Regions from separate parts of the Homo sapiens genome. Here region 2 is linked to region 1. Evidence: promoter capture Hi-C in 16 types of primary human blood cells and fetal thymus (Javierre and others, 2016). All regions are on one chromosome and are shown on one strand. Each heading gives the region's core, a stretch centred on a gene start or on the middle of the fragment in contact. The rest is flanking DNA. Distances are from core to core; before and after follow the strand shown.

Region 1 (2,870 bases), core at 159-2,658:
TGCACTCCAGCCTGGGTAACAGAGCGAGACCTTGTCTCAAAAACAAAAAAAGAATAAAAAAAGATTAAAAGTACTGCATATCTATTGGGGTTACTCTCAATTCACACAATCGGAAAATTTTAAAAACTTTTTTTGAGATCATGAACCACTTTAAGAATCGGCTGCTATGAACTCTCATCTCAGGAAAAGGCATATTCACAAAGTTTTGCACTCAATCTTAGCGGGTCACAGTCATTCAGTGAAGTCATCCATGTCAATTTTTTTTTTTGAGACAGTCTTGCTCTGTCGCCCAGTCTGGAGTGCAGTGGTAATTACTGCAACCTCTGCCTCCTGGGTTCAAGCGAGTCTCCTGCCTCAGCCTCCCGAGTAGCTAGGATTACACCATGCCCGGCTATTTTTTCTATTTTTAGTAGAGACTGGGTTTCGCCATTTTGACCAGACTGATCTTGAACTCCTACCTCAAGCAATCCACCCGAGTTGACCTCCCAAAGTGCTGGGATTACAGGCGTGAGCCACGGCGCCAGCCAAACGTCAAATTAGATTATAAAATATTTCCACTAAATGTGTAATTCTAGAATTAATCATTTTCTGAAAAAAATGTTAATTATCCCTACATATGACTCCTAAGAAGTGAGCATAACCCCTCCCTCAATAGCTTTCCACCTCCAATTCAACACAGGAGGAATCCTGGGTTTTTAGAATTCAGGTCAACAGAGAAGGGTCTTAACATAGTCACATTTAGTAAGATAGACCTTTGGCCTCTCTTTAAGTGAAAGTTCAGTGCAGCCAAGGCACTAATTTCCACCATTGTCTCGACTTAATTTCGTCTTGGGCTGCAAGAATTCATTATTGCTCTTTGCATCACTGTTGTCTGGGACCACTTCAAGTATTTTCAAAGGTTTGATACCGTTCCACTTAAACTCTGAGACCCGGTTTTCTCATTTACCTGACAGTGATAGTAACAGCTACTTCTCAGGGTTATTGTTTAGAGAATGGACGTTTATGGAACACTCAGCAGTGTCTGCACACAGTAAGTGCTCAATAAGAGTTAGCTATCATTATTACGTCCTCACCGGGGCTGTCCCCTTGAGGTTGGATCACTGTGGACTCCAGGAGCTGGCACATGGTACCCACCGTCCGTGACTGGGGTAGGCCTGGGGCCGGAGGAGGGCCCTGGAGCCCTGGGAGTCCCGGGGGGCCTGGTCGACGGGAAAGTTCCGAAGGTGGCCAGGGCTGCCTCGGTGGAGTTGAGGCCCTCTGTCGTCACCGCCGGGGTGGCATCGGTCTGGGCGCTCACGGAGGCCCAGCAGCCCAGGAGCACCACCAGGAGCGGCGGGAGACCTCGCGGCCTCATCTCCCAGGGAGTCCCAGCGAGGCCCGCGACATGGACAGCGCGTTGCCCGGCAACCGCGACAGCCAGGCGCGGGGCATCACGGGAAGGGGCTTGCGAAGCCGCGAGAAGCTGCCGGAGACTGACTGGGGCGAAGCCTGGATGAGGCAGGGGGCGGATCCCGGATGAGGCCGGAGGGCGGCGCCTGGGTGAGGCAGCGATGGCAGGCACAGGGGCGAGCACTAGTGAGCGGGTGTGAAGCTGGCGTAAACGAGGGGCGTGTAAATCCCGGCTGTGGTTTCCAACCGGTCCGCGGCGCTTGCTTAAAAAATGCAGATTTTCTGTAGTTCCAGCTACTCGGGAGGCTGAGGCAGAAGAATCGCTTGAACCCGGGAGGTGAAGGCTACAGAGAGCCGTGAGCGTGCCACTGCACTCCAGCCTGGGCGACAGTGTGACACTCTGTCTCAACCAAAAAAAAAAAAAAAAAAAAAAAAGACGGATTTCCAGGTACCACCTCAGGAGATCCTGAGTCAGTTAGTCTAGGGCAGGACCCAGGAATCAGTTTTTGGGGGATTTTTTTTGAGACAGGGTCTCACTCTGTCGCCCAGGCTGGAGTGCAGTAGCGCGATCTCGGCTCACTGCAGCCTCGACCTCTGGGACTCAAGCAATCCTCCCACTTCAGCCTCCTGAGTAGCTGGGAACTCAGGCGCGCGCCACCATACCCAGCTAATTTTTGTATTTTTTTTTTTTTTTTTTTTTTTTTGTAAAGACGAGGTCTCCCTCCGTCGCCCGGACTGGTATCGAACTCCTGGTTCAAGTGATCCACCTGCTCCAGCCTCCTGAGTCCTGAGTAGTTGGGATTACAGGCGTGAGCCACCACTCCCAGCCAGGAATAAATATTTTTAACAAATGTCCGGACGCAAGCAGATGAGTTGGACGGAAATTTAGGAAGCGCCGTCCCAACGCCACTAACGTGGGTGTTTGGAAGGAGCACAGGGATCTGTGAGATCACTGTCTCTGAATTTTCTCTATCCCAGACTCTGTCAACACTGGCTTCACCTTTTTATTTTAGCTGCATCTCACAAGGTTGCCAGATAACTTCTGTCTGCTGTATTGTGATAAAGGGGACAAATGAACACTTAATACCTTTTATTATTTTTTGTAGAGAGGGGGTCTCACTATGTTGATCAGGCTAGTCACAAACTCCTGGCCTCAAGTGATCCTCCCGCCTCAGCCTCCCAAAGAGCTAGGATTACAGGCATGAGCCACCACGCCAGGCCTAAGAACCTATTTAAAGACAAAAATCTTTTACAAAAATTAAGTAAAATAATTTAGACATCTTAAAGGGGAAAACAAAGCAAATCCACTGTAATGCTACAAAACGACCTGGAGACCCTACGATTTAGGAAACCCTCTCCATTCTGAATGGGCTTATTTAGGAGGTACCCAAGCCCAAGAATGTTGGCTGCACCTTTGACACTTAATCTCCATACAGTTCAGAAGTAGATGTCGAAGTACTTAGACGTGGCCAGGCACAGTG
Region 2 (2,870 bases), core at 261-2,760, 270 kb before region 1:
CTGCTTTCTGTAGTGCCTCTCACAGAGCCTTCCTAGGAGACTGCCCTGGAAAGGCTGCTGTGGACACAGGGGCCCAGGGCCTGGGAAAGCAGAGCCGCCCTGACCTGGATTCGTTGGGTCCTCTTGTGCATCATCTCCATGTCGTTGTTGAGCTCCGTGACATACGTGAACCGAGCAAAATTCTTCTCCTCCTTGGCCAGAAAATCTTCAATGAGCTGGTTTAGGTTCCCACTCTCAGCCAGCTTCAGCAGCCGGAGGTGGGCCACCTCATAGCTCTCAAAACTCTCTCCCCTGTTCTTCTTGACATGCTTCTTTGCCTTGAGAGCTAGGAAAGGAAAAATCAGCCACTGTGACACTCAAAAGGAAGCTCCTCAGATCCGTGCCAGGCAGACAGTAACGTGATCAATATTATTGTGGCCAGGCATGGTGACTCACGCCTGTAATCCCAACACTTTGGGAAGCCGAGGCAGGCAGATCACCTGAGGTCAGGAGTTCGAGACCAGCCTAGCCAACATGGCGAAACCCCGTCTCTACTAAAAATGCAAAAATTAGCCAGGTGTGGTGGCACATGCCTGCAATCCCAGCTACATGGGAGGCTAAGCCAGGAGAATTGCTTGAACCTGGGAGGCAGAGGTTGCAGTGAGCCAAGTTTGCGCCACTGCACTCCAGCCTGGGCGATGGAGCAAGACTCCATCTCAAAAAACAAACAAACAAACAAGCAAACAAAAAACAAACAAACAAACAAAAAAATATATATATAGTAGTATGCTTTAGGGATGAGGCTAGATGTTTCCAGGAGATAGAGCAGAAGCTTCACCCATCATTCATTTCACAAATATCTCAAGAAGCATTTACTATGAGTCACACACTGTGCTAGGCACTGCTGATACAAAATCCCTGCCCTGGCCGGGCATGGTAGCTCACACCTGTAATCCCAGCACAGGGGTTGAGCCCTGGAGTTCAAGACCAGCATGGACAACATAGCAAGACCCCACCTCTACAAAAAATTTTTAAAATTAGGCCGGGTGCAGTGGCTCCCGCCTGTAATCCCAGCACTTTGGGAGGCCAAGGCAGGTGGATCACGAGGTCAAGAGACTGAGACCATCCTGGCCAACATGGTGAAACCCCGTCTCTTCTAAAAATACAAAAATTAGCTGGGTGTGGTGGCATGTGCCTGTAGTCCCAGCTACTCAGGAGGCTGAGGCAGGAGAATCACTTGAACCCAGGAGGTGGAGGTTGCAGTGAGCCGAGATTGCGCCACTGCACTCCAGCCTGGGTGACAGAGCAAGACTCCGTCTTAAAAAAAAAAAAAAAAAAATTTAAAATTAGCCAAGTGTCGTGTTGAATGCCTGTGGTCCTAGCTACTCGGGAGGGCAAAGTGGGAGGATGGCTTGGGCCTAAGAGGTCAAGGCTGAAGTGAGCTGTGACTGTCACACCACTGCACTCCAGCCTGGGAGAAAGAACTAGACCCTGTTTCTTAAAAATAAATAAATAAATAAATAAAAGGATCGTTTAGGCACACCTGACCATGTGACCTTTTTACAGGTTGTGGCTCCCCACTGTTCTGGGGAGGCTCAGGCGATCCTCCCACCTCAGACTCCCCAGTAGCTGAGACCACAGGCAAGTGCCACCATGCCCAGCAGTTTATCCCAAACACCTGCTTTTCCTCTGAGTGTCTAGAATTTTGGTATGTGCTAGGCAGAGGGTGTCTACACGACCAGCCCCCAGTAAGAATTTGGGGTACTGAATCTCTAGTATACCCCACTATGAGATAACCTTTTTTTTTTTAAGAGACAGGGTCTCACTCTGTCACCCAGGCTGGAGTGGCGCAATCATAGCTTGCTGCAGCCTCAAACTCCTGGACTTAGGATCTGCTTTTTTCTACCCCTCAGCACCTTGTCACCATCAGACCTTCTGAGATCAAGCCATCCTCCCATCTCAGTCTCCAGAGTAGCTGGGACCACAGGCATGTACCACTATGCCCAACTAATTTTTTTTTATTCATTGTAGAGATGGGGTCTTGCTCATTTGCCCAGGCCAGTCTCAAACTCCTGGCCTCAAGTGATCCTCCCGCCTTGGCCTCCCAAAGCACTGAGATTACAGGCATGAGCCACCATGCCCAGCCTAGTAGATAACTCTTGACATGATGTGTGGTCACAGATCCTGAAAGAACCATGTGTGCTCAGTGTGACTGTACTTGGAAGCTTGCGCCCAGTTTCCTCCAGACGCCGGACCACACACCTTCTCCCTGTGCTGATCTTGCTTGGTGCCTTTTCACTGTAATGCATCACAGCCATGAATGTGCCTCAGTGCTGAGTCCTGCGAGATATGCTAGTGAATCATCAAACCTAGAGATGAACCTGGGGACCCCTGACAATAAGTCTCCTTCTAAATAATAGAAAGAGAGTCCCAGATGAAGACACATGCTGTAAATTAGGGTTGGCAGATAAAATAGAGGGTTCTCAGTTAAATTTGAATTTCAGACAAATATATTTTTAAGTATAAATATGTCCCAATTATAGATAAACAAAAAAGTTTTATCATAAGTATGTCCCAAATGCTGCATGAGACATAGTTATCCTAAACATTTATTTATTGTTTATTTGATATTTAAATTTAACTAGGCATTTTTTTTTTGAGAGTCTTATTCTGTTGCCCAGGCTGGAGTGCAGTGGCATGATCTTGGCTCATTGCAACCTCTGCCTCCTGGGTTCAAGTGATTCTCCTGCCTCAGCTTCCCAAGTAGCTGGGATTACAGGCACTCACCACTATGTCCAGCTAATTTTTTTGTATTTTTAGTAGAGACGGGGTTTCACCATGTTGGTCAGGCTGTTCTCAAATTCCTGACCTCAAATGATCAGCCTGCCTTG

The links. Contacts are between HindIII fragments. The CHiCAGO score rates a contact against its expected background, and 5 or more counts as called.
Region 2: a contact is called between a fragment that was not itself captured here and the fragment with the promoter of TCTN1 in region 1, in 5 of 17 cell types (M0 macrophages, M1 macrophages, endothelial precursors and 2 more). The highest score is 6.4, in M0 macrophages.

What each region holds. Positions count from the first base shown.
Region 1 is chr12:110,612,667-110,615,536 of GRCh38, reverse strand. It overlaps TCTN1 (tectonic family member 1), which reads right to left and starts at 1,408. Exons shown (of 15, transcript NM_001082538.3): 1 at 1,135-1,408. The coding sequence starts at 1,354. RefSeq lists an enhancer at 1,082-1,131. The HindIII fragment of the contact is 6,908 bases long and covers 1-2,870 here.
Region 2 is chr12:110,881,485-110,884,354 of GRCh38, reverse strand. It overlaps CCDC63 (coiled-coil domain containing 63), which reads right to left. Exons shown (of 12, transcript NM_152591.3): 8 at 105-325. Among named protein-coding and RNA genes, the nearest start is that of CCDC63, 36 kb to the right of the region's middle. The HindIII fragment of the contact is 1,393 bases long and covers 814-2,206 here.